Regions from separate parts of the Homo sapiens genome. Here all the other regions are linked to region 1. The links are contacts of gene promoters, found by promoter capture Hi-C in blood cells and fetal thymus (Javierre and others, 2016). All regions are on one chromosome and are shown on one strand. Each heading gives the region's core, a stretch centred on a gene start or on the middle of the fragment in contact. The rest is flanking DNA. Distances are from core to core; before and after follow the strand shown. Region 1 holds the start of RBM5 (RNA binding motif protein 5). Region 2 overlaps RNF123 (ring finger protein 123). Region 3 holds the start of AMIGO3 (adhesion molecule with Ig like domain 3). Region 4 overlaps IP6K1 (inositol hexakisphosphate kinase 1). Region 5 overlaps TRAIP (TRAF interacting protein).

Region 1 (5,412 bases), core at 913-3,412:
ATAAGGGTGTGTGTTTAAATCAAATGGTCTGAGAGCATGTACCCATAGGTGACACAATAGCCAAATGCTCTCATCTTAATTTTCCACTAATTCTTTGGCTCTTTCTTTCTTCATGTAACACACAGTCCCAAGCTTCTCAGCTCTCTAAGTCTGGATCATCTTGCTATTCAGGGAACAATAACAAGAAATGGCATTCATTGATTGCTTACCACAGCCAGGAACTGTGCTAAGTGCCAGACTGTATGATCTCCTGGATTCTGCAAAGGTTGCTGTCCACACAGGGAACCTTCAGTGACCCACTCTACCCTGCCCTTCTTTGCCTAAAATTCTTTCTTATCCTTCAGCTTCCTTCCAGAGAATATTTTCTCCAGGAAGCTTTCCTGGCTGTGAACAAGAAAAAGACATACTTCCTATGTGTTCTAAGAGCACCCTACACTTTATCACAGCATGTTCACACAGTACTTTAATTCTCTCACTAGACTGTAGTTTGTGACAACAGGATCATAAAGGTGTTCGTTAGCAATGCCTGGCGCAAAACACTCATATATTAGTTTGATAAACTATTTTAAACAAGGAGTTCAGTCCCCACTGAAATGTTGAGATCAAAGCCACGTACTGTAGTAACTTACCTTTTGTCTGAACCCATTGTCCCACTGAAGATTTAGCACACAGCTCCAAAAGGTTCAAATTTTATTTTTTCTAGGAGACAAGAGAGATTAATTGCTATAAATCTCAGAGATCACTTAAGTCAGCAGCTCCATAGCTTGGATACTACTGAGGCTGGGATTTCATCAAACCTTCAAATCATTGACAGTGATTATCTAAGGTGGGGAAGTGGTGGGGACAAACTGTCAACGTTAAAATCGTGCTAACATTTTGTTAACAATGAGCAAAACCGGAAGATTAAGCATATTTTAAAATATTAGATTCCAGATTTAACAGAATCATAATACGGAGCAAGCAGAAGACTCCTTCCCTGCTCCTACCTTAGAATTACAAAGCAAAAAGGGCAGAGCTACAATCAGCTCCTTGGTTTTGTATCAAAGCAACTCCGTGGGATAGTTGACCGTTAAAACATTAATCCAAGTGTCTTCATTAATACAAGGAGCAACATGAAATTCAAACACTTCTGATGAAAAATGTAAAACCTCGTAGAAGCTGGGATACTGAGCTGACTGAAATCTACTACATTAATAACGTATCGCATAAGACAAGAGCAAAGCTAGAAACGACCTAATTCCTAGGTAACAATAACCACCACGTCTTGAGCCAGTTCTTATGACTACAAACCACTGAGTAGTGAACAGCCCGGCCCCCCGCCCCCCGTTGGTAATAAGACATCACACTGCTGGACCGCGTTCGATGAGCGCGAGGTCCGAAAAATCAGTTCCAGTAGTCTCTGGAAGCCTAGTCTAGAGCGAATGCTCAACGATTTGTTGAAATTAATAAATGAAAAAGAACCACTGGGGGGAAACAAGTCCCGGGGCATATTCACTGGTGCCGCCCCTTGTCTCCCGGGCGGTGCCGGCACCCACCTCCGTGGGGTCTCGCGGCCGAGATGGCGGCGTCACGGCCTGCTCGACCGACTCCAGCGTCCGGCCTGCCCTCCCCGCACATGCCCCTCCCGCCTCCCAAGAGGTTCCAAACCCGCAGATGGGCGATCACCGAACAGCTTTTCGGAGAGGGCGATTCAGTTGCAGTTGAGCGGGGGATGGCGGCCAGAGACTGCCAGGGAGCTCCCAAGGAGTGCCCGAGGGACAGGCGACGGCTCCACTGCTCCGTTGGGCTGAAGATTAGGGGACGTGTATCCACAAGGGGCAAAGTCACAGCCAGAAAGAAGCAGGCCCAAGGCTGAGCTGGCTGGACACCCTCTGGAAACTGACAGAGCTGGCAACAAGGAAGGGCGCGGCCCTCCAACGCCTGGGGTAATTTAGCCCCTCTACAGAACCGGCTGGAGCTGATCAGTCGCCTCCGGCAGCTGACAAGGGAGGCTTGGGGGCCAGCCCAAATGGCAAGAACCTACCGTCGTTACAGACAGCCGCCGCACTTACCCCAAGGAGAGACCGAAGCAGCAGTAGCGGTTCTGCGCCCCAGAACCTCCAACAAGGTTCGGCGGCTACACAAAATGGCGCCTCCGCCGACGGCCGTCTCCTACCCACAGTACCTCACGCTTATCCCCTCCCCCTGTCACCCGCCTCCTGCGGAGAAGTCCAATCCTCGAAGCGGCCTGGCTGTGCGAGGGCTGCCGGGAAATGTGGTCGCCAGACCATCCTGTCACTTAGGACGCTCTGTGTTAATGTCTTGCAATTCTCTTCTAAATCACTACAGAGTTGTCGATCGGCTTTTGCAGACCTGGATTAGTTTTTAGGGCTCCTATTAGGCATGTTAATAATTCTTTGCTTTTGCTACTAGCGCCGTAGAGAGTACAGTTTGCTTTCACTGGCACGGTGTAAAACATTGTCTAATTCTACTTCAAAAGGAGACCGTGCGTGAAGTGGTGGCTCACTCACAAGCCAGCATTTTGGGAGGCCGAGGCAGGAGGATCGCTTGAGGCCAGGAGTTCGAGACCAGCCTGGGAAACACAGTGAGATCCTATCTCTACAAAAAATAAAATTAACTGAGCATGGTGGCGTGCACCTCTTGTCCCAGCTACTCAGGAGCTGAGGTGAGAGGTTCGCTTGGGCCCAAGAGGTCGAGGCTGCAGTGAGCTGTGATCTCGTCACAGCACTCCAGCCTGGGGACAATGCGAGAAACTGTCGCTAAAAAATAAAAAGGAGGCCGGTGCTGGGCGCGGTGGCTCACTCCTGTAATCCCAGCACTTTGGGAGGCCAAGGCGGGCGGATCACAAGGTCAGGAGATCGAGACCATCCTGGCTAACACGGTGAAATCCCGTCTCTACTAAAAATACAAAAAAATTAGCTGGGCATGGTGGCGGGCGCCTGTAGTCCCAGCTACTTGGGCGGCTGAGGCAGGAGAATGGTGTGAACCCGGGAGGCGGAGCTTGCAGTGAGCCGAGATTGCGCCACTGCACTCCAGCCTGGGCAACAGAGTGAGACTCTGTTTCAAAAAAAAAAAAAAAAAAGGCTGGACGCAGTGGCTCACGCCTGTAATCCCAGCACTTTGGGAGGCCGAGGCAAGTGGATCACGAGGTCAGGAGCTCAAGACCAGCCTGACCAATATGGTGAAACCGCGTCTCTACTAAAAATACAAAAATTAGCCGGGCATGGTGGCATGCACCTGTAGTTCCAGCTACTAGGGAGGCTGAGGCAGGAGAATCACTTGAACCAGGGAGGCAGAGGTTGCAGTGAGCTGAGATCGTGCCACTGCACTCCAGCCTGGGTGACAGAGCAAGACTCAGTCTCAAAATAATAATAATAATAATAATAATAATAATAATAATAATAATAATAAATAAATAAATAAAAAGGAGGGGCCAGGCATGATGGCTCATGCCTGTAATCCAAGCACTGTGGGAGGCCGAGGCAGGTGGATCAGCTGAGCTCAGGAGTTCGAGACCAGCCTGGCCAACATGGCTAAACCCCGTCTCTACTAAAAATACAAAAATTAGCTGGGTGTGGTGGCGCACACCTATAATCCCAGCTACTTGGGAGGCTGAGGTAGGAGAATCGCTTGAACCCAAGAGGCGGAGGTTGCAGTGAGCCGAGATTGCTCTACCGCACTCCAGCTTGTGCAACACAGCAAGACTCTATCTCAAAAAAAAATAAAAATAAAAAATAAATTAAAATGAGGAACATTAGTTGATCGCTTTACTAGATGCTATATTATTGCCCTAGATGCTTTGCAAACATTTTTGTTTGTTTGTTTGTTTGAGATGGAGTTTTGCTCCTGTTGCCCAGGCTGGAGTGCAATGGCACAGTTTCAACTCACTGCAAACTCTGCCTCCCAGGTTCAAGTGATTCTCCTGCCTCAGCCTCCCAAACAGCTGGGATTACAGGCACCCGCCACCACACCCAGCTAATTTTTGTATTTTTAGTAGAGATGGGGTTTCACCATGTTGACCAGGCTGGTTTCGAACTCCTGACCTCAGGTGATCCACCTGCCTCAGCCTCCCAAAGTGCTAGGATTACAGGCATGAGCCACCGCACCCAGCCAGAACTGATTTTTCAGGTCATACAAATTGAAAACTGTGCCTATACCATTAGTTACAGAAAGTTATACATCAGTTACAGAAAACTGTGCCTATACCATTTTCTTCTCTCTCTGGAAAACAAATCTTTCAAGAATAAGTGGAGGGATGTCAGTGTATATATCTATATATAGGTATATACACAATACATATATAGACGAAAAGGTAGAAATATAATATATGTGGTGTGTGTGTATTTAGAGAGGAAATATATACAATTTATGGGGAAGCATATATGCAAAATATCAGAAAAGAGTACATGCATTAATGAAATTTAAAAGTTAACATTGATGACATCACTGCAAACCCTACAATGGATGATGCAGATGCCAAGAATCTAGAACTCACTAGACTTCATAGCCACTAGCCGTTGCCTGCCTTGTCCCCAAAGCAGTTCAACAAGCACCTTTGGATATTCCTGAGGTGCTTGCTGAGCTGGGCTTACCACCAGTCATAAAAGCTATATAGCTATTCACAAACCTCAAAATAATCTTTTTTTTTTTTGAGACGGGGTCTTACTCTGTCACCCAGGTTGGAGTGCAATGTCATGATCTCGGTTCATTGCAACCTCGACCTATCCAGGTCAAGAGATCCTCCCACCTCAGCCTCCTGAGTAGCTGAGACCACAGGTGTGCACCACCATGCCCAACTAATTTTTTGTATTTTTGGGGTAGAGATGGAGTTTCACCATGTTGCCCTGGCTGGTCTCGAACTCCTGAGTTCAAGCGATCCTCCTGCCTCAACCTCCCAAAGTGCTGGGATTACAAGCGTGAGCCACCATGCCCAGCCTGCAAAATAATTCTTAAACTTGAAGAGGTCCCTGGCAAAAAAAGATGGATTTCATCCATAGGTAAGTGCCATCCTCCAAATTATCTCTGGTAGCTGATCTTCTTTTAGACATTGGCCTGTTGAGCTCCAGAGCTCTGCTGCCAAAGGCCTGTCTGGTAGCTGATGTAAGAAAAAGAAAGACATCAGAGTGAGTTGCTCTTTGTTTTAAATAAAGCCACATATGTTCAATAAGGGATAGTCCTTTAAGATTGTCTTTTCTAGCCCTCTCCCTCTCCCTCTCCCCACGGTCTCCCTCTCTCTCTCTTTCCACGGTCTCCCTCTGATGCCGAGCCGAAGCTGGACAGTACTGCTGCCATCTCGGCTCACTGCAACCTCCCTGCCTGATTCTCCTGCCTCAGCTTGCCGAGTGCCTGCGATTGCAGGTGCGCACCGCCACGCCTGACTGGTTTTCGTATTTTTTTGGTGGAGACGGGGAT
Region 2 (5,412 bases), core at 1,165-3,664, 390 kb after region 1:
AAGTGGCCCTGGATGAGACCCCTGCCCATAAGATACAGGATAAGCCCAACACAAATCCCACCGCCTGCCCCCACTGCGGCACCTGGGCCATAGCTGGGGCTGGCTCCTCATCCTCATCTAGGTCATCCATGGCGGTTGACTGGAGCTCCAGTGGGTCGATCACAATGTTGGCTTTGGAAGCAAGGTCATCTGGGAGGAAGAGCAGGAGGGTTCTCAGGCCAGTGGTGGCGCAAGGGGCCACAGTGGAAGTGCCCAGGACGGTGAGAGAGCCCAGCACACTGGGCAGGAGGCCTTGCAGAGCCCGGTTTAGCACCGTATCTGCCCCTCGCCCCTCCGCCTCCTCCACCCAGCCTTCACTCTGCATCTCAAGGGCCCCGTCTAGCTGCCACTCAGTAACAGGAGGCCTTCCCCATCACACCCTTCTTTTTCATTTATTTTCAAATTGACTTTCTTTATTCTACATAGATGTAAGCCCATCATGCCCTTCCTGCTGGTCCCTGGCTTTGTTTCCCAGGACTTCCTGCTCTCCAGGGCCTCCCCCACTCTCTGACTACTCCATAAACAAAAGGAGATGCCAGGGCTGCTTCATTCTGGGCACTCCCAGTGGGAGCCAAGCCTCATCCCAGGCTCATCCCCACCACCGTGCTGACAACTGACCCCGCCTTCGCTGCCCCCCGCCCAGGCCTTGCTCCCCGCTAAACGCGCTGTGTCCAAACAGAATTTCTCATCTCCACCACCTCCTGCAGCCCCTCTCCCTGATGGCACCCCATCCACACAACCTCTGGCAGGAAGCCTGGGGTCATCCTGACTCCTCTCCTCCACCTGTGCCCTCCCCTACCTACCTGGGCAGGCCCTTATCTCCTGTGTGGGGACACCTGGGCTCCCTGTCTCTCAGCCCCTGCACTCCGGCGTATACACTGCGGCAGCCAGAGAGAGGTTCTGACAGCACAGACCCACCCTTGTGCCCGGCTCAGGGCCTTGCTCTCGCTGTGCCCTCAGCCCTGCACCGGGGCAGCTTGTGCTCATCCCTGAAGGCAGCTCCGGCAGCACCTGCACGCCCCATCCACACCTCACCAAGATCCCTGGTCCCCTGCCAGGCACGCCCGACCCCTATGGCGTGGGTGCTGGCGGGAAAGAGAAGCTGCCCAGATGTAGGGCAGGCAGATCAGTGTCTCCCTGCCTGAGTGGGTGGAAAGACTTGGGCACCCTCTGGTGGCCATAGGATGGCTCAGCATCCACAGCAGAGCAGGCTCAGGGACAGTCCCCCACCTGGCCCCAGAACTGCTCCCGGCCCACAGGCCTGTACACACCTTTGAGGGTCTTCCGCAGGTGCGAGAGGAGGCCCCCCAGGCGCTGCAGGTCAAAGTAGTCCACCTTGCCATTATAGAAGACCTGGGGCGGGATGTAGGCCTCTGCGAGGAATTGAGGAGGCTAGGCCAGTGGTCACGGCCCAGTAGGAAGACCCTCCCCACAGCCCTCCCCTCCAATCTGGCCTAGCACAGCCTGGGAATTCTGGCTTTGGCCACTCACCCATCCAGGCAGACAGAGAAACTGTCTCCTGGACCAAGAAACAGACCTCCCCTACCTCTTCTCCACCCCTGCCATTTCAGGTCAGAGCCAGCAGCTGCATAACTTGGGGTGATGGGGGTACTCATGGCAGCCGTTCACTCAGGAGAAGCAGAGAGGCCCAGCCCCAGTCCTGTGGGATATCCCCCAATCCAGGGCAGGTAAGGCTCCCACTGACCCTTGGGGACTCAAACACAGGGCCCCCCAGCACCCACCCAAGGCAGCCCTATAAAGGACGCACAGAGAAATGGGGGGGCAAGGACGGAAGAAAAGAGCCCACAATGGTAGGAGCCCGTGGGACAATCAGAGCAAACACAGGATCGGCAGGCCTGCGGTGCAGGGCTCCTGCTGCCCCAGTGGAGAAGCCGCCTGTGGCTGGGTAGGACTCAACCAGGCAGGATGCCGGGGACAACTCCCCACAGCCCACAGCCTCAGCTCAGCACTCTGCACTAACATTAGGGGCTGCCCTACGCCTGGCTCTGTCCAGCCTCACTGACCTGGGACCCCGGTGCCACTCACCCTCACTGAAGGAAGCATGAGGATTGGAAGCCTTGTATTCATCCCAATAGTAGCGCAGGGCAGAGATCAGCCGGTGTAAGAAGCAGACCATGTACTCAGGGGGGCAGAGCATGGGCATGTTCTGTGGACACCAGGCATGAAACATGCATTGGTGCCAGTCCAGTGCCTTGCCCATTCCTCATCCAAGGCCCTGCCTGAGGGTCGAGGGTTAAGCAGGGAGGGAAAAGCAGCAGAGAAAAGCTTGGGGCTAGGCAGGGATGAGGCAGTCCGAGAAGTGCCAGGTGCTGAGGGCATGGCATGTGTAGTGCAGCCGGGGATCCACAGTGGGCTGGCCTGGAGGACACCTACCCCCCGGCCACTGGCGTTCTCCTGCAGAAACTTGCGAAACTTGGTCAGGAAGATATACCTAGAAGCTTCACCCTTTGAGAGAGGGAAAAGTGAGGCTGTGCTGAGCTGAGAATGCAGGCCCAGACTGGGCTGGCTCAGTGCTGCACCTTCCCCCAGCCCCTGCCATGGGAACCAAACCCAGTTCCCACCCTCTGGGTCTTAAGGCCCAGTGCAGCATCCCTCCCCACAGGGCCCCACCCAGGGCTCCTGGGAGTCACTCACCCCATTGTCATCTTTATTGTCCAGCAGCAGCTTCAGGATCTGGACCTGTAGTTCTTCCACCACTGGAGGTCAGGTGAGGAACATGGCCCTCAGGCTCCAGGAGATGGGGGGCAGGTTTGGGCCAGGGCTCCACCACCAGGGTTCCCCAAGTCCCACCTAGACATGGGCACCTCCAAGCACCCTCATGTGCACACACACACCTCCCACCCTACCCCGTGCCCAAGGCGGGCTGACCTTCGATGCGCTTCCTGAGCCGCTGACAGCCCCGTTCGTAGGCTCGCCGCCGCAGCCGCTCCTCTGCGGTCTCCTCCTTCATCTCCGTGCTCTCTTTGCCCTAGGCAGGGGTAGCAGGTGGAATACAGCAGGGTCACCTGGGACCTAGCCAGGCCTCCTTCACTCAGAACACCCACACTCCATCTCCAGGGCTTCAGGGACCAGGGCCAGTGAAAAGGCCTCATGCTAGATGCCCAGTGGCCAGATGCCCAGGCCAGGGGCCTTGCCATGACCTCTGCCCATCCCACTTGGGGTGCACTCACCTCCCTACTGGAGCAGTGGGGCCACCAGGTGGTGGGAATGAGCTCCTGCAGGCCGGCCTCCTCCACACGCAGGGGGCTCTTGATGTAAAAGAAGACGACGGAGCGGAGCACGTCGAAGCTGGCGGGTGTCAAGGCAGGGCTCTGCTTGCCAAAGGGCACTCTGCACACCCTCAAGAGTCCTTCCCCAGGAGCCCATCCCTGGATGTGCCTACCACAGCTCTCCCACCACCACAGGGGCATGTTGCTGCTATGTGTCTGACCCCCAGGGCATGCTCCCTGACAAAAAGCTGTGGTGGTTAAGCCCACCAGCTCCAGTACCCAGCAGGTGCACGATAAGGGCTTGTCACAGGAACAGATGACTGTGGGACAAGCTGGAGAGAGGGACTGGTGGCCTTTTCTCAGGCCCCAACTCTGACCTCTGTGTCTCCCAGCTTTGTGTCTGCCTCCTGGAGGCTGGAAGACCCCAGACCAAGAAAACGGCTACAAGCTGAGGCTTCCCAGCCAGGGGCTCAAAGCTATGCTCTCACTCACTCATGCAGTTCCCAACAATTCTGGGAAGCAGGAAGAGCTGCCTCCTTAAAGATCTTGCAGGAATCCCCACTGTGGAACATGAACAAAAGTGCTGGGCTGTGGCCGAAGAGGGCAGGCCCTGTGGCCCCTCCCACACCTCTGCGTAGCCCGAGTCTGCAGTCATTCAGAACCCCCTGGCTAGGCTGGCTGGCCAGGCTCAGTCCTTTGCTCTCTCGTCCTTGCTCTGTAGAGAAAATGCCACGTTGGGCAGCTCTGGTCCTCCTGATGCTCCCAGGGGACCCCTGGCCTGATGACACTCCCCTTCCTGGCCTCTGCTGAGTCCAGAGGGCACCCCATGTCTGGCCTGCCAGGCAGCAAGGAAAGGATACAGGACATTGCTAAGCAGAAACTTGCGGGACTTCTCATGCCTCAGGATGGCGATAGTGAGCCGCAGGTAATGGATCTGTGGAGAGGGGGCGTTCAGAGTGGACAGGCGAGTCCCAGGGGGCTCAGGGCAGGGGTAGGGGCTCCCACCTGTAGGCCCAGGTCTGGGACAATGGGTGAGAATCGGTACAGCCGAAGCAGAGACATCATCAACTGCTTGAGGCAATCTTGTACCTCGTAGTCCTGGGGGAAGAGATGCCAAGGCAGCCATGACTGGGGCCTTTTCCAAGATTCTCCCCGTATCTTCCCGACCCCAGTGAAGACTGACAGCCAGGCCTGAGGCCTGAGGTCAGGAGCCTCACCTCCATGAAGAGCCACAAGAGGTCCAGGACCTGGTGCACCACGGACTGTGCCTGTGTGGGTGTGCCCTTCTCCACGATGCCCAGCAAGAAGCTCATGAGCACAGCCTCCACCAGATACACCTTGCGCTGCACCAAGGCCAGGCACTGGTGAGGTGGTGGCCTTCCACTCTGGTCAAGGCACCCCTGCCCTGGCACATGGCCAAGGCACAAGCCTCAGGCACAGAGCCTTGAGCCACTCGAGCAACACCAAACATAGATGACCCCTTCCGGGGTCTGACTGAGGGACAAGAAGGCCATTGCCCCACGGCTCCTCTAAGGCTTGGCACACGCAGTTTCCTTGGCCTGGGATGTTATTATCCTTCAGTCTTCTTTCCAGGACATCCCCTGATGCCCTTGGTTGGCAATGTCCCTGTTTCCCTAGGGGACTGACTGAGGTCTGAGGGCCCTGGTCACATGGGGCCCTCGCCAGGTGATGCTGTGGGACCTCAGCACTGCAGCCCTCAGTGAGGGCACATCTACCACGGGCGTGTCTAGCATGGCCTGTCTCCTCCCCTCCCATGCCCCTCCCAATGCCGCTCACCAGAAGCGGTGCAAAGTGATGGAAGATGTGGGCCAGTGTGAGGAGGACGGTGGGCTGGCCCCGCAACCGCCACTTGGAGCTCTCCTTGTCCAACAGCCGCCCCTCCTGTGTGGAGGGGGAGGAGGGAGAAGTGTGAGGGGCAGGAGGCTGTGGAAGCCCCCCACCCCGCCTGGCCCAGACCCCAGCTCACCACAGGGTCCAGCTCCACACTCAGCACTGCCCGGAAGCAGCCCAGCAACCTCTGTGCCCGCACCAGGTCAGCACTCGGTGGGTCCTGCAGGGGCCGGTAGCCTGCCACTGGGTAGGTGCCAGAGTTAAGCCAGCAACGCCTTATCTGTGGCTCAGA
Region 3 (5,412 bases), core at 590-3,089, 370 kb after region 1:
AATAATAATTTAATGCTCACTGTGGCCCTGACTGAAAGTCAAGCTCAGGCACAATTAGGGCCATGGCTGGGCTCCCACCAATGAGGATACAGGCAGGCAAGGAGGTTGGATGTGGTGGTGTGGGATACAGGAGAAGGGCAAAGGGAGCTCATAAATAGGGCCCAGCCTGGCTCTGGGTTCAAAGGTGGAGGTTCCAGGATGGCACAGGCTGTGAGGGCTAGGCAGCTGAGGAGGTAGTACTCGTATTGGCTCCCTTCTCCCAGTCCTCTACAGACACGATGGTGGTTTTGCAGAAGAAGCAGTCCTTGTTGTTCATCAGGTGCTGGTTGATACAGGCTCTACAACAGGGGAGGGGATGAGGACTGCCCTGCATGTACCTACTGCTCTCCCCACCACCAAGCTGTGGGGCCCACTTACTTGCAGGACTTGTGGCCACAGGGCTGGAACACAGCAGAGATGGGGTGGGCATAGCAGATGGGGCAGAGGTCCTCCTCACTGGTGGGCTGCAGGGAGGAGAGTGAAGGGTGGGCTGGAGTTGGATGCCTGGCTATGTGGATGTCCGTTGTGCCTGTGTAGGAGTGCACACATATTCAAGTGGCATGGACCTGTGCACCGTGTTCCCACTCACCAGGGAGGCAGCTGCTGCCTGGGCAGATGCAGAGGTCAGGTGCGCCAGCATCTGTTCCACTTGGGCCAGCTCATCGGCACTGATATAATCCGCATCTGGGGAGTGGTAGGTAGTGTCAAGTCAGAGGTAGCTGAGGATGTGATGCCTCTTGAATATTCCCAGCCTAGGACTTTGCTGTTCTTAAGGCTCCTGACCCGACCCAGCCCCAGATTTCCCTGACCTGCCCCACCAGCCCACTCACAGCTCTGCAGGGAGAAGCGCTTCCGGTCAGGGGCTGGCAGAGCAGTGCCAGGTGCTGGGGGCTCTGGCTGTCCCAGGAGATAGCATATTGAGCGTAGCTGGAAGCAGGGATCTGCCAGGAGCACTGATGTGGCTTGCTCTCTCCTAGGTAGGGGAGGGTGCAAGGGCAGTCAGAAGGCTTGGGGCCTGGCTAAAAGTCTCTCTTGGGATTGCCAATGAGGAGTGCCATGGCTCGTACATGATCACCCCCCCTGCATCCTTTCCGTCTCCCTGCTTCCCAAACCCCAAGTCCTGTATTCTAGTAAGGTGCCACACAGCCTGTTTTTTTTTTTTTTTTCTTGAGACGAGTCTCGCTCTGTTGCCCAGGCTGGAGTGCGATGGCACGATCTCGGCTCACTGCAACCTCCACCTCCCGGGTTCAAGTGATTCTCCTGCTTTAGCCTCCCGAGTAGCTGGAATTGCAGACGCCCACCACCACGCCCGGCTAATTGTTGTATTTTTAGTAGAGACAGGGTTTCACCAGGTTGGCCAGGCTGGTCTCGAATTCCTGACCTCAGGTGATCCACCTGCCTTGGCTTCCCAAAGTGCTGGGATTACAGGCGTGAGCCACCGCGCCCGGCCTGGGGTACCACTTTAAGAAGGCTCAGGCGAACCACCTTAAGATAGTGAGAGTCTGCCTGCCCCATAATATTATCAGTCCTTCAAAGTCACTTCAAATAAACACTAACAGCAGCTTGGAGACATTCTTCCAGACTCCCCCTTTTACTCCCCGAGGAAAAACGAGCGGCGGAGAGCTGCCAGCCAAAGGCTGACGGGGACTTTGGGGTTGGCCTTGCTCCCCATCTGGCGGTCATGCGGGGCCATTGGGCACAAAGGGATGTAGCCGCCCCGCCTCCTCAAACGGGAACCAATAGGAGCCCGGGCCCCGCCCCTGGGGGGAGTATTTAGGAGCCGATCAGGAACTCGCTTGGAGAGGGCTAGCGAAGCCGAAGGGAGCGCGGCTAAGAGTGCCGCACCGCCTCACAACCTGGGAACCGGAGAGTAGGGGCCGTCGGCTGGCAAGAACCCGCCGTGCCTCCTCGGCAAGGGCCATCCGGTGCCACCCATGTCGCACTAGAGCAGAAGAGGGTGAGTCCTGGAACTGCAACCTGCACAGAGCTGCTCTGTACTGTCCCTGGTGGTCGCCGCCATGACCTGGTTGGTGCTGCTGGGGACACTGCTCTGCATGCTGCGCGTTGGGTTAGGCACCCCGGACTCCGAGGGTTTCCCGCCCCGTGCGCTCCACAACTGCCCCTACAAATGTATCTGCGCTGCCGACCTGCTAAGCTGCACTGGCCTAGGGCTGCAGGACGTGCCAGCCGAGTTACCTGCCGCTACTGCGGACCTCGACCTGAGCCACAACGCGCTCCAGCGCCTGCGCCCCGGCTGGTTGGCGCCCCTCTTCCAGCTGCGCGCCCTGCACCTAGACCACAACGAACTAGATGCGCTGGGTCGCGGCGTCTTCGTCAACGCCAGCGGCCTGAGGCTGCTCGATCTATCATCTAACACGTTGCGGGCGCTTGGCCGCCACGACCTCGACGGGCTGGGGGCGCTGGAGAAGCTGCTTCTGTTCAATAACCGCTTGGTGCACTTGGACGAGCATGCCTTCCACGGCCTGCGCGCGCTCAGCCATCTCTACCTGGGCTGCAACGAACTCGCCTCGTTCTCCTTCGACCACCTGCACGGTCTGAGCGCCACCCACCTGCTTACTCTGGACCTCTCCTCCAACCGGCTGGGACACATCTCCGTACCTGAGCTGGCCGCGCTGCCGGCCTTCCTCAAGAACGGCCTCTACTTGCACAACAACCCTTTGCCTTGCGACTGCCGCCTCTACCACCTGCTACAGCGCTGGCACCAGCGGGGCCTGAGCGCCGTGCGCGACTTTGCGCGCGAGTACGTATGCTTGGCCTTCAAGGTACCCGCGTCCCGCGTGCGCTTCTTCCAGCACAGCCGCGTCTTTGAGAACTGCTCGTCGGCCCCAGCTCTTGGCCTAGAGCGGCCGGAAGAGCACCTGTACGCGCTGGTGGGTCGGTCCCTGAGGCTTTACTGCAACACCAGCGTCCCGGCCATGCGCATTGCCTGGGTTTCGCCGCAGCAGGAGCTTCTCAGGGCGCCAGGATCCCGCGATGGCAGCATCGCGGTGCTGGCCGACGGCAGCTTGGCCATAGGCAACGTACAGGAGCAGCATGCGGGACTCTTCGTGTGCCTGGCCACTGGGCCCCGCCTGCACCACAACCAGACGCACGAGTACAACGTGAGCGTGCACTTTCCGCGCCCAGAGCCCGAGGCTTTCAACACAGGCTTCACCACACTGCTGGGCTGTGCCGTGGGCCTTGTGCTCGTGCTGCTCTACCTGTTCGCCCCACCCTGCCGCTGCTGCCGCCGTGCCTGCCGCTGCCGCCGCTGGCCCCAAACACCCAGCCCGCTCCAAGAGCTGAGCGCACAGTCCTCAGTACTCAGCACCACACCGCCAGACGCACCCAGCCGCAAGGCCAGCGTCCACAAGCACGTAGTCTTTCTGGAGCCAGGCCGGAGGGGCCTCAATGGCCGCGTGCAGCTGGCAGTAGCTGAGGAATTCGATCTCTACAACCCTGGAGGCCTGCAGCTGAAGGCTGGCTCTGAGTCCGCCAGCTCCATAGGCTCCGAGGGTCCCATGACAACCTAGACTGCCCAGGGCTCCCCCACCCAGGCCCCCACCCTCTTGCTGCTCGCCCTGCTCCCTGCTTCGGTCCAGAGAACTGGCAGATACTGGTGGGAAGCACTGTGCCTGGCCCCCCAGCTTCCTGTATGGGCCTCGAAACACAATGGGCCTTCTCGCTCACTGGTAGAGACAGGGGTTGTGGTCCCCAACCTGCCTTCTGCTCTGCCCCTGCACAGGACCCAAAGGCCCCAGGCCCTGCAAGGTGTGCTAGTTCCTGCTTTCCCGCGGACTTCCTAGTGCCCAAATGCCCTGTGAGGCTGAGAGACCCAGGCCCCTGTGGCTTTCAACACAGCACAGCTGTGGAAGTGGCTGTGTTCTTCTACAGCCTGTGGAAGAACCCCTGTAGCAGAGCCTCCCGTCCACCCTCAGGGGCTGAGACAGCTCTCGAGGAGTGGTGCTCAAGAGCTGACGCAGGGCCACCTCCCCTTCCCAAGGGGGTGGGAGGGAGTGGGCCCACAGGGAAAAGAAGGCGGCTCTGAAGGAAGATCTCGCCCACACCCCAGGACAGAAAGAGGAAACAAGCCCGCCCTCTGGTGAAATGGGACTCCCTCCATCCACCAACACCCAACCTCCTGAAAGCTTCACAACTTCACGCAGAGTCCGGTGGGCAGGCACCAGGCAGGAAAGGCTCCTCAAGAGGTTCCTGGTGGTCTGGCCTAAGCCCCAGCCAGAGGCCCTGCTCTCTCTGGCCTGGGGCATCCACCCGTTGTTCTGAAGGCAGAGCCCATTCTGTGGGCTCACAAGACACAGTGAAGGGGATCATGGCCTGCACCCCTGCTTTTCAGCAGTAAAAAGCCCGAAAAGCCTGGCGAGCATGGCCGAGCTGGGAGGGCCGAGCCGGAACTCCACGTCCCTCGAGAGCAGGAGCCTCTTAAGGGCTGGCACTGGTCTCAGCCTAATGGCTGAGGCGGTACCCTGGCTTCATATGCATCTCACTGCTCCCACTGCAGGGGGGCAGGGAAGGGGGGTCTGGGAGCCCTTCATGTGTGGGGGCCGAGCTGGGGGCCCCCATGGCCATCCTGGACCTCGCTGCTCCAGAGTTTAATAAAGGTAGCACATGCTTATTGCTAGAGCCTTTGCAGACAATGGCGGTCCTCCGTGTGTTCAGCTCTCCTGGCGGCCTGGCCCTGTCCACCACAGGACGGCACACCCTCCGGAGTCCTGCCTCCCATGCCTGGCCTGAGGCATGGCCACAAGCCAGTGGCTCTGTGGGCCAGGGCCACCTGTCCTGCTGGGGTCCCAGATTCTCCTACTTAGAGCAGCTCCGTCTGCCCCCTATTTAGGCCGTTCACACCTCACCACCTTCCCTCTGCCTCAAAACCTGATGCTGAGGTCCATTTTCCAGATGAGGAAACTGAAGTACCAGGAGGCCCTGTCCAGCCCCTCCTCACCAGACACACCCAACTCCCACAGGGGCCCACGGTCCCCAACACTCACTCTGAGGCTGGGCCACGCACCAGGAGCTGCACCAGGATGCCCGTCACTGCCACCAGAATGGGATAGTGGTCCACGCTCTCTAGGCCTGAGGGGAAGGGGAGGAAAGAGATGAGCCACCCACATGCTCCTGCTTCAAGGGCTCCAGGCCTGCCCACTGCCCTCTCTACAGAAGGGTGAGCCGAGACTGCAGAGCACCAAGTCTGGCTGTCCGGGGGCAGAATGTGGAATCAGGCCTCACTGTTCCTAGCAGAGGAACCGAGGCCTGTAGTGTGTTGGGGTGCAGGGCATCTAGGTCCTCACCAGGCAGCCGTAGGGTGACCACACGATCAAACAGGTTCCTCTCAGCTGTCACCCGGTTCAGCACCTG
Region 4 (5,412 bases), core at 961-3,460, 350 kb after region 1:
ACACTCCTTTTCTTTTCTTTTTGTAGCCATCCTAGTGGATGTGTGTGGTATCTGTGGCTTTGACTTGCTTTTTCCTAATGTCTAACGAATGATGCAGAGGATTTTTTTGTTATTGTCTGTTGGTATACCTTCTTAAAGAAATGTCTATTCAAGTCCTTTGACCATTTTGAATTGGGTTGTTTCTGTCTTTTTTTTTTTTTTTTTTTGAGACAGAGTCTTGCTCTGTCGCCCAGGCTGGAGTGCAGTGGCACGATCTCGGCTCACTGCAATCTCCACCTCCGTGTTCAAGCGATTCTTCTGCCTCAGCCTCCCAAGTAGCTGGGATTACAGGCATGTGCCACCACGCCTAACTAAATTTTGTATTTTTAGTAGAGATGGGGTTTCACCATGTTGGGCAAGCTGCTTTCGAACTCCTGACTTTAGGTGATTTGCCTGCCTTGGCCTCCCAAAATGCTGGGATTACAGTCATGTGCCACCATGCCTGGCTAATTTTTGTATTTTTAGTAGAGACGGGGTTTTGCCATATTGGCCAGGCTGGTCTCAAACTCAACTCAGGTGACCTACCTGCCTTGGCCTCCCAAAGTGTTGGGATTATAGGTGTGAGCCACCATGACTGGCCTGGGTTGTTTCTTAATTGGCAGAAAGAGGTGAACCAGTTTTTAGGACATCTCAAGCTTTTTAAATTTCATTTTTATTTTAATTAACCTCAGGGATTTTACTTATGCTTGGAATGTTCTTTCCAGTACCCTTATCCACACCTGCTCCTCCAACCTTTAGTTTATTAGGTCTCCCCAGACACTTCTTCCCTGATCATCCTATATTATATTCTGCTCTGGAAACCATATTTTCAGTGATAGAACCTTACTTAGTTTCTTCATAGCACTTATCACAATCTGTATTTTTGTCTATGTGTTTGTTTTTCACATTAGTATGGAAGCTCCTTGAAGGTATGGACTTTTTTTTTTGTCTTTTACACTTATGAGTTCAGGGCCTGGCATCTAGTAGATGGTCAGTAAATACTTGATAAATGAATGAGGCAAAGCTTATTTGCATAAATGTACAGAAGCCTTGAACTTCACATTTAGTACTGCAAGCACTAACAGTTGATGATTGTAGCTGGTCATACTAAATAAATGAAAATTTGTTTTTAAACCTGCCAAGATATGAAATATTATTGACACTTTTTCTTAGCTTAATTGAGCTTAAACACCTGTGCTGATAGCAGCAATTAGATGTGTGTATGTGTGTGGGCTAGTAATCATACATGTATTTCTTAGCTCCATGTGCTGAAAGGGCCTAAAAGCAGTGATACTTCAGTAGCAATCAGTATATCTAGTAACCAAATCCTGAGTTTTCTAAATACCATTCTTACAATAAAAAGAAACAGAGCTCCTTGGTGAAATGGTTGGTTCCTGAGTTCGGGCAGGAAAATTATAAGACAAGCCTAGAACATCTTATGGTGACAGATAGTAAAGAAGTGGTCAAAAATCATGTCAGAAGTACGAAGAGCTAACTTTAAAGGAATTGAAGGGCCCAATCTAGAAGAATTTAAATGACAAAATATCCACAAGTCTATACTGATAAATACATGGATATGAAGGGACAACTCTTCCTTATAGAATTCTAATTTCTTTTTTTTTTTTTTTTTTTTTTTTTTTGAGACGGAGTCTCGCTCTGTTGTCCAGGTTGGAGTGCAGTGGCGCAGTCTCGCCTCACTGCAAGCTCTGCCCCCCGGGTTCACGCCATTCTTCTGCCTCAGCCTCCCGAGTAGCTGGGACTACAGGCTCCCGCCACCAAGCCTGGCTAATCTTTTGTATTTTTAGTAGAGACAGGGTTTCACCATGTTAGCCAGGATGGTCTCAATCTCCTGACCTTGTGATCCACCTGCCTCGGCCTCCCAAAGTGCTGGGATTACAGGAGTGAGCCACCGTGCCCGGCCAGAATTCTGATTTATTTTGATTAATAAATATAGAAGGAATGATGGGAATAGAAGTCACCATTAGGCAGACAACACAGTAATACCATTCAGCACACACCATTAGGCATTACACACACCATTAGACATTACAACACAGTAATAATTGTGGCGCATTGTGCAGTGGTGCAATCATACCTCACTGCAGCCTCGAAACCATGGCTCCGCCGGGCATGGTGGCTCATGCCTATAATCCTAGCACTTTGGGAGGCCGAGGCAGGCGGATCACCTGAGGTCAGGAGTTCGAGACCAGCCTCGCCAACATGGTGAAACCCTGTCTCTACTAAAAATACAAAACTTAGTTGGGTGTGCTGGCAGGTGCCTATAATCCCAGTTACTTGGGAGGCTGAGGCAGAAGAATCACTTGAACCCGGGAGGCAGAGGTTGCAGTGAGCAGAGACCACGCCATTGCATTCCAGCCTGGGCAACAAGAGTGAAACTCTTGTCTCAAAAAAAAAAAAAAAACAAAAAAAAAAAACTATGGCTCAAGTGATCCTCCCACCTCAGCCCCCCGAGTAGCTGGGACTATAGGCACGCCACTACAACTAGGTAATTTTTAAAGTTTTTTGTAGAGACAGGGTCTTGCTCTGTTACCCAGGCTAGTTTTGAACTCCTAGCCTCAAGGAATCCTCCCACCTTGGCCTCTCATAGTGCTGAGATTTAAGAGATCGGACCTCACTATGTTGCCTGGGCTAGTCTTGAACTCCTGGTCTCAAGTGATCCTCCTCCATGAGGCATGATACCTCAGCCTCCCAAGTAGCTGGGATCACAGGTGTGAGCCACTGCTCCCAGCTGAAAGGTAAGTGTGTGTGTGTGTGTGTGTGTGTGTGTGTGTGTGTGTGTATTTTGTTTTTGTTTTTGTTTTGAGATAGGGTCTTGCTTCATTGCCTAGGCTAGAGTGCAGTGGTATGAACTTGGCTCACTGCAACCTCTACCTCCTGGGTTCAAGGACCTCAGCCTCCTGAGTAGCTGGGACTTACAGGTGCCTGCCACCATTCCTGGCTAATTTTTGTATTTTTAGTAGAGATGGGGTTTCACCATGTTGGTCAGGTTGGTCTCGAACTCCTGACCTTAAGTGACCCACTTGCCTTGGCCTCCCAAAGTGCCTGGATACAGGTATGAGCCACCGTGGCTGGACTGTGTGTTTTTTTAATATAAAATTTTAGTCCAATTTATTTATTTATATACTATTTTGAGACAGGGTCTCACTCTGTTGCCCAGACTGGAATGCAGTGGCACGATCTCAACTCACCACAGCCTTGACCTCCTGGGCTCAAGTGATTCTCCCACCTCAGCCTCTGGAGTAGCTGGGACCACAGGTGTGCACCGGCTCTTTTTTTTTGTATTTTGTAGAGACAGGGTCTCACCATGTTGCCCAGGCGGGTCTCAAACTTCTAAGCTTAAGTGATCTGCCTGCCTTGGCCTCCCAATGTGCTGGGATTACAGATGTGAGCCACCATGCCTGGCCCTGAAATAGATTAATTTGACTAATAATATCTTCCACTATGCTTCTATTTTTTTTTCTTTTTCTTTTTTGAGATGGAGTCTCACTCTGTTGCCCAGGCTGGAGTGCAGTGGCGCGATCTTGGCTCACTGCAAGCTCTGCCTCCCGGGCTCACGCCATTCTCCTGCCTCAGCCTCCCGAGTAGTTGGGACTACAGGCGTGTACCACCACGCCCGGCTAATTTTTTGTATTTTTAGTAGAGACAGGGTTTCACCGTGTTAGCCAGGATGGTCTCAATCTCCTGACCTCGTGATCCGCCCCCCTCAGCCTCCCAAAGTGCTGGGATTACAGGCGTAAGCCACCGTGCCCAGCCTATGCTTCTATTTTCTTTGACTAAATTGGGCTTCATTTGACTTAGAAAGAAGGGATTAATTTTAGTTTAATTGAATTGTACTTTTGAGCTAGCATATTTATTCTTTCCTAGTGAAAATGTAGCCTAAGCAAAGAAAATAAAGTAGATCCTAAGAATTTACTGTGGCTTTTATTTTTTTATTTTTATTTTGAGACAGGGTCTTGCTGTGTCGCCCAGGCTGGAGTGCAGTGGTACAGTCATGGCTCACTGCAGACTCAAACTCCTGACCTCAAGCAATCCTCTCATATTATGGCCTTTAAAGATACCTGTTACTCAGTTTGAGAGGAGGAAGGTGTGAGGAAATACTGAACCAGTGCTAGAGACTGCCAACCCTTCCCTGGGAGGCACCTTGAAGTTCTAAATTGTCTTGTCCCAGTTCTGATGGTTGTAATTTAGAGAACACCTATCTGGAAGCAGGGCTCATTTACCTTTTAAGGGATTTTTTCCTTAGCATCAGAAGGACTCCATGAGCTGACAGGGCCTATAGTTTTATTTCTGGCTTTGGCATATTTATGGCAGAATGTTTGGCCTTCAGTGTTTTGAATGTGGATGGATAGGTGGCTGAAGCTACATTTATAAAGTGTTTGGGACTGTTAAAGTTTCCTAGCCACTTGGAGAAAGCAGTGTGTTTATTTCTGGCTTTGTTCTTATTTAGCAGCCTTAGAATATTTATTTTTCCAAATTTAGTATTCTTCTGATTATGTTTTGAAAGCAATAAAAATCACCCAGTTTCAAAACTGCACAAAGGGCTTGAATAGAGATTTTTCCAGAGAGGACATACAGATGGCCAGTAGCACATCAACATGATTAGTCATTAAGAAATGCAAATCAAAACCAAAATAAGATACCACTTCATACCAGGTATCTTATTTTACCTAGTATGGCTATAATAGTTTAAAGAAAAAAGGGAAATAACTGTTGGCAAGGATGTGGAGAAATGGGAACATTGCTGATGAAAATGTAAAGTGGTGTAGCCACTGTGGAAAAGAGTTTGGCAGTTCCTCCCAAAGGTGAACACAGAAACCATATGATCCAGCAATTCCACTCCTACATATATATCCAAAACAATTGAAAACAGGGACTGTGGCCAGGTGCAGTGGCTCATGCCTGTAATCCTAGTACTTTGGGAGGCGGGCAGATCACCTGAGGTCAGTAGTTCAAGACCAGCCTGGCTAACATGGCAAAACCCTGTCTCTGCTAAAAAATACAAAAAGTAGCCGAGCGTGGTGGCAGGCACCTGTAATCCCCGCTCCTCAGGAGGCTGAGGCAGGAGAATCACCTCGGGAGGCGGAGATTGCAGTGAGCTGAGGTTGCACCACTGCACTCCAGCCTGGGCGACAGAGCAAGATTCCATCTCAAAAAAAAAAAAAAAGAAAAAAGAAAAAACAGGGATTCAAATGGATTGTTGTAAGCCAGTGTTCACAACAGCATCATTCATAATAGCTAAAAGGTGGAAACAACCCAAGTGTCCATCAATATAGATAATACATAACAGATGTGATATATACTTACAATGGAATACTATTGAGCCATAAAAAAGAATGAAGTTCTGATATATGCTGTGACACAGATGAACCTTGC
Region 5 (5,412 bases), core at 1,280-3,779, 260 kb after region 1:
GTGCAGACTGCTGGCATCATGTTGAGTCTTACCTGAACCCAGGATGCAGAAGGCTTTACTGTTGGGTCCAATAATATTGGCTGCCCTAGGTCATTGTACATAGTTTGTTTAGTGTCTTTGAGAAAAGCTCTTCTATTTATTGGCCCAGGGCAGCAGCCTAACTGCCTAGTGTTCTACCAATGCAGATTAGGATGGGGTGGAGCCAAGCTCACAATTTCATCAGTGTTCCAGTTTTCAGGCCTGTTTAATGCTTTTGCAAGGCCCTCCCTTTCCTTCATGGACCCCCTCCTTGTGGGTTCTGGCTGCTGTGTCAGTCTCTTGTCCCCTGGCCATGCTTTGTCTCCCAGAATTTTTTGGAAATCTCTGGGGGCTGATGGTGGTTGCCCCTTCTACTTGTTGCAGTAGGATTACCCTTCATACCTGTCATTTTAGGGAGGCATCAGCATGTAGCCACCACCCCCAACTACAGAGTCAATGTTAGGAAGATCTCTCTCATGGGCCCCAAGGGCCCCTGAACTCCAGGCTAGAGACAGCCAGGGAGACCTTTCCTTAGGGTAGGGTAAGGCCGCCAGGAGCCATGAGTTCATGGAGGAGATGTTGACTAATCCCATGCCACGCAGGCAATGGGCTGCTCAAGGCCTTAGCTCTGTTCTGGAAAGGGGAGCTTTGAGTGTCTTGCCTGGCTCCCTGAGGCCTCTGGCATGAAGCCCTGTAACTTGACCATGGGTGGGTGTCCCAAGGGTGATAGTGTCACTCAGGAGGGCCTCAAGCCAGCCTCAACCAGTGAGGGAAGGACTACTAAGCCCTAGGTTCTTTCTCCTTGTAGGACAAACAGAAAGTGGGAAGGAAAGAAAGTGGACCCCTGGCAGAAAGGGAAATAGGCTTCAAGCTCATGAAGGAAGAAGAATATAGAAACAGTCTAAGACAAGGCCGGGCGCGGTGGCTCATGCCTGTAATACCAGCACTTTGGGAGGCCGAGGTGGGCAGATCACGAGGTCAGGAGAGCGAGACCATCCTGGCTAACACGGTGTAACCCCATCTCTACTAAAAATACAAAAAATTAGCTGGGCGTGGTGGCGGGCGCCTGTAGCCCCAGCTACTCAGGAGGCTGAGGCAGGAGAATGGCTTGAACCCGGAAGGCGGAGCTTGCAGTGAGCCGAGATCGCACCACTGCACTCCAGCCTGGGTGACAGAGCAAGATTCCGTCTCAAAAAAAAAAAAAAGAAACAGTCTAAGAGAGGAAGAAATGTGTCCATATGATCCAGATGTGGATATGGGGAGTGAGGGAGGCACCGTGAGAACCTCCTGAGTCTTGAGTTTAGTGTTGTGGATGACCAGGAGGTGCAAGTGAATAAGCCTGGCTTGCCTTGAGCTTGGGCACCACTAGGCAACGCCTTAGGGGATGGCTGGGAGTAGAAAGTCCTGCCTTGAGCCACCTGGAGGGTAAAATTTACAGGACCCAGCGAGATCCTGCCTTCCTCTTGAGTTTACCTTTCCTAACCTGAGCCTCAACTTGCTGGGGTTGGTAAATGGTGGCAGAATATGGATACTGCAAAAAAGTTGGCATGAGTGGTCCTGGCTGCTGTGGTTCCCAGAGGAGGAAGCAAAGCAGCCAGCCTAGAGTTGGTTTGAGGTGGGTTTGTGCAGTCTTCATTTTAACTTGCAGGCGGGGACAGAGGTAGAGCTTCTAGGGTCCTGGACAGGGAAAGGAAGAAATAGTCCAGGCTGCCTGGATTGCTTAGCCACCCAAATCAATGCAGGTAGGCTTCCTCCCTCTGATGTGTACACCCCAGTGGAAGTGGGATTGTGGTGCAGCTCTGAAAAGTTCCTGAGGAAGGAAAGAGAGAAGGCATCTTTGGAGCTACCCTTGCCATTCCCCAGGGTTCTCCTTGTATGACAGGAGGTGGGGAGCCCTGCCAGGTCTGGGTGGGCTGGAAGAATCCTGTCGGCTGTAGTTTTAATAGAATAAAACTTCACTCCCCACCCCCCACCCCCCCCCCCCCCCCGTGTTATAAAAGTAAAAACACACTCATTGAGAATTTGGAAAATAGGGAGTTATCATAGAGGTACTTATGGTTGACATGTGGAATATTTCCTTCTCCTTTTTCTGCATGTGGGAGTGGTGGGGGGGTGCCAAATCATGTAATTGCACTATACATGGAGTTTTGTGTGCTTTTTAAATTAAATTAAATTTAAACTTTTTTTTTTTTTTTTCCTGAGACGGAGTCTTGCTCTGTCGCCCAGGCTGGAGTGCAGTGGCGCGATCTCGGCTCACCGCAAGCTCTGCCTCCCGAGTTCAAGCAATTCTCCTGCCTCAGCCTCCCGAGTAGCTGGGACTACAGACACAAGCCACCACACCCAGCTAATTTTTGTATTTTTAGTAGGATGGGGTTTCACCATGTTAGCCCGGGTGGTCTTGATCTCTTGACCGCTTGATCCACCCGCCTTGGCCTCCCAAAGTGCTGGGATTACAGGCGTGAGCCACTGTGCCTGGCCGAGAGTAGGGCTCTCTTGAGGGGTGGCCTTGAGTCAGGAGTGGGCTCCAGGTCCCTGGAGCTGAGTTATCTCTGATGCTTCAGGAGCTGTTGTCCTGGGTTACCACTGTGGCCCCAAGTAACCAGGTCATCTCTGCCTTCAGCCCAGCCCCTGTGGAGGTGAATCTGAAGCTCCGCCGGCCATCCTTCCGTGATGATATTGATCTCAATGCTACCTTTGATGTGGATACTCCCCCAGCCCGGCCCTCCAGCTCCCAGCATGGTTACTACGAAAAACTTTGCCTAGAGAAGTCACAGTGAGTGATAGTCGCTGGCACTGTCCATGGGCTGGTAGGGGGATAGCTAAGACAGCTCTGCAGGCCCTGTGCTGTTAGCTCTGAGTGGCTGATGGGGCAGTGAGGGTTGCCTAGGCTTGGCCATGGCTTTGGTTCCAGCTACCTCTTGTTCCCTCACCTGAGCACTCAATCTGTGCAAACCCCTTCTCTTTTCTCATTATTCCTCACCATCACCTTTCAAGGCAAACGTATTGGAATGCAAGTTAGAGAGAATGCAGTGATGCCAGAAGGGGTGGGTCTGGGCTGGAGAGGGTGCTCCCAATACCTTGAAGGCCTGCCCACCAGAGTCCTGAGCGAGGGACTCTGAACTTCCTCTTCTATGTTTGCCTCTGAGGCTCATGCCTGAGGGAGGATCATCTCAAACCACAGAGCCCAAGGCCTTACCACCCAAGGGGGTGACCCACAGGGGCAAGCATGAGAAGCTGTCTGGAATTCCAGTGGGGCAGGTGGAACCTGCTCTGGGGTACGGTGGGACCAGAAAAAGGGAGGCTGTCTCCTTGGCCAGCTTTGCCAAGTGTAATTCACTGTGGAGACAAGGACTATACTCATTCATACAGGTACTGTTCAGGTGAGGCTGGTCAAGGGCTGGGCAGGTTTCCTCTTTTTCAAAGACTTTGTACAGAGAGAAAGAAGAGAAAGAGAAAGAAACTGAGATGCTAGACAGTGGAGGTGGAAGGGAGCAAGAGGGCAAGCCAGCTGGGCTGTCCTACCTCCCAAACCTCAGGGGGCATGGGCACCCCTGTTGTAGAGGGCGAGGCCTGGTAGCAATGAGAAACAAACCTAGGACCCGTGGGCTGTAGTCCTCAGGGATCCTGTCAGTGTCTGCTGTGTACTCTGGCTTCCTCCCATTGCCCTTCTTCCGCTGTAAAGGTTGAAGGTGGACACCTGGGGTCTTCAGGCTGCCAGGCCTTTCAGAGACATTTCCACCACCTTCATGGCCTGTGGAGGTAGTGAAGGAGGTAGTGAAGTTCTGAGTCCCTAACTCAGCTCGTCCTTCCTGGAGCCTTGGTTGTCATGTAGCCTTACCACAGGCCGTTAGGGCAGGAGCAGAGGAGTCAGTCATCAGGCCCTGATCCCACTCTTGTCCTTATGGCTTGAGAAGCCACAGGGCCAGCCTTAGATCACCATCTTCTCACCCACCAGGGAAAATGCCAGGAGAGGGTATCCAGCTGCTGGGTTCCCCAGGAATTGGATGGAAATACAGTTTCTGGCTCTGGGGCTGGGATTGGGAGACCAGGGCCTGGGGCCATGCGCTATTCTGCCCCAGGCCCTTCTTAGACACACTCTCTAGGGAGATGGCTTGGCCCTGTGTTCTGAGAGGATTTTGTGGGCTACTTTACTGAAAGGCTAACTTACTGAGGCTCTCGTGGAGGTAGTGTCCCCTCTCTGGGAAGACAGGACTAGGCCTGAGCTCATTAAATTTCTTTTGCTCGTATCAGGGCATGACTGGCTTTCCTCCCGTGGGTGGTGAGTTGATTGGGCTCTTCAGCCCCATATAGAGCCTGGGACATGGTGAGGTGCCCGAGGACTTGAGGAGCGTTGGAATTTGGCCTTGAGTGGAAGCCACAGGATTGGGACATGGTCCAGTCATCCCCAGTCATCCCTGTCTCTGCCACCCTACTGGCTGTGGCTGTCCAGCTGTTAACAGACCTGCACTTGGGGTGGGATCACTGAGGTGCCTTGCCCAGAATGCAGGCATGGCAGCAGCAGTGCCACATGGTAACTCCCCAAGGGGCGTGTGCTGAGCCTGGTTCACCTGCCCCCATGTCTTGCTTACCTACCCCTTGCCTTCTCTCTCATTCTTGTAGCTCCCCAATTCAGGATGTCCCCAAGAAGATATGCAAAGGCCCCAGGAAGGTAAGAGCTTTCTAGAAGAAGCACAGTCTAACCTTTGGCAGGACTGGACTTTTGGGAGGGCACGGTCTTGCCAGAGCCTTGTCACTCCTGGTCCAGGACTGAGGTACTTCGGAGCCACCCTTGGGATTCTACTCATTATCCCTCCTGCCTCCTAGTGAGGCATCAGAGATCCTGATCTTGTTCCACCACCACTACCCTCCCTCCTTTGCTGACATCCAGCTCATCAAGTCTGGCCCTGGGGTCTTCCCTGCAGGAGTCCCAGCTCTCACTGGGTGGCCAGAGCTGTGCAGGAGAGCCAGATGAGGAACTGGTTGGTGCCTTCCCTATTTTTGTCCGGAATGCCATCCTAGGCCAGAAACAGCCCAAGAGGCCCAGGTCAGAGTCCTCTTGCAGCAAAGATGTGGTGAGTGTGGCTTCCCACAGTGGCAGGAGCCAGCCCTCTTGGGTAGAAATGGGTGGCCAGCCCCCCAGCCCATTAGCCTGGCCCACTCATCTCTTCCTTCCACCCTAGGTAAGGACAGGCTTCGATGGGCTCGGTGGCCGGACAAAATTCATCCAGCCTGTATCCTTTTCCTGTGATGTTGAGCTGAGCTGAACTGTGGAGCCCATACTATGCCTCACCTATACCCCCAGCCTGCCAGTGCCAACAGCCTCAGGTGTGCAGTGCTGGGCCTCATTCTGTGTATCAGCGCCGCCCACCCCCGGCTCTGAGCCTTTCTTGCCCT

The links. The method cuts DNA at HindIII sites, captures the fragments that hold promoters and counts their contacts. A CHiCAGO score of 5 or more calls a contact.
Region 2: a fragment that was not itself captured here is called in contact with the fragment with the promoter of RBM5 in region 1 in 3 of 17 cell types (endothelial precursors, megakaryocytes and naive B cells); the score reaches 15.5 in endothelial precursors.
Region 3: a contact is called between the fragment with the promoter of AMIGO3 here and the fragment with the promoter of RBM5 in region 1, in 1 of 17 cell types (endothelial precursors). The highest score is 5.3, in endothelial precursors.
Region 4: a contact is called between a fragment that was not itself captured here and the fragment with the promoter of RBM5 in region 1, in 1 of 17 cell types (endothelial precursors). The highest score is 7.4, in endothelial precursors.
Region 5: a contact is called between a fragment that was not itself captured here and the fragment with the promoter of RBM5 in region 1, in 1 of 17 cell types (endothelial precursors). The highest score is 6.8, in endothelial precursors.

The regions. Positions count from the first base shown.
Region 1 is chr3:50,085,669-50,091,080 of GRCh38, reverse strand. RBM5 (RNA binding motif protein 5) reads right to left here and starts at 2,162. Exons shown (of 25, transcript NM_005778.4): 1 at 2,052-2,162; 2 at 630-699. The coding sequence starts at 646. RefSeq lists enhancers at 1,123-1,713, 1,875-1,984, 2,025-2,194, 1,714-2,305. The HindIII fragment of the contact is 11,751 bases long and covers 378-5,412 here.
Region 2 is chr3:49,699,427-49,704,838 of GRCh38, reverse strand. It overlaps RNF123 (ring finger protein 123), which reads right to left. Exons shown (of 39, transcript NM_022064.5): 11 at 5,257-5,371; 12 at 5,067-5,171; 13 at 4,487-4,612; 14 at 4,275-4,367; 15 at 4,130-4,203; 16 at 3,231-3,348; 17 at 2,929-3,028; 18 at 2,695-2,756; 19 at 2,434-2,505; 20 at 2,086-2,206; 21 at 1,311-1,412; 22 at 83-189. Among named protein-coding and RNA genes, the nearest start is that of RNF123, 13 kb to the right of the region's middle. RefSeq lists a silencer at 989-1,283. The HindIII fragment of the contact is 173 bases long and covers 2,328-2,500 here.
Region 3 is chr3:49,716,111-49,721,522 of GRCh38, reverse strand. It overlaps AMIGO3 (adhesion molecule with Ig like domain 3), which reads left to right and starts at 1,839. Exons shown (of 1, transcript NM_198722.3): 1 at 1,839-4,694. The coding sequence starts at 2,058. The coding sequence ends at 3,572. It overlaps RNF123 (ring finger protein 123), which reads right to left. Exons shown (of 39, transcript NM_022064.5): 34 at 5,346-5,412; 35 at 5,046-5,130; 36 at 870-1,012; 37 at 629-723; 38 at 418-503; 39 at 1-338. The coding sequence ends at 218. GMPPB (GDP-mannose pyrophosphorylase B) reads left to right here. Exons shown (of 9, transcript NM_021971.4): 9 at 1-1,607. RefSeq lists a silencer at 303-480 and enhancers at 1,475-1,704, 2,475-2,584, 2,066-2,873, 3,919-4,419. The HindIII fragment of the contact is 8,800 bases long and covers 1-4,189 here.
Region 4 is chr3:49,740,648-49,746,059 of GRCh38, reverse strand. All of the region lies in intron 2 of IP6K1 (inositol hexakisphosphate kinase 1), which reads left to right. Among named protein-coding and RNA genes, the nearest start is that of GMPPB, 19 kb to the right of the region's middle. The HindIII fragment of the contact is 2,332 bases long and covers 1,045-3,376 here.
Region 5 is chr3:49,829,295-49,834,706 of GRCh38, reverse strand. TRAIP (TRAF interacting protein) reads left to right here. Exons shown (of 15, transcript NM_005879.3): 11 at 2,639-2,791; 12 at 4,639-4,687; 13 at 4,941-5,090; 14 at 5,199-5,249. Among named protein-coding and RNA genes, the nearest start is that of UBA7, 18 kb to the right of the region's middle. The HindIII fragment of the contact is 6,901 bases long and covers 1-5,412 here.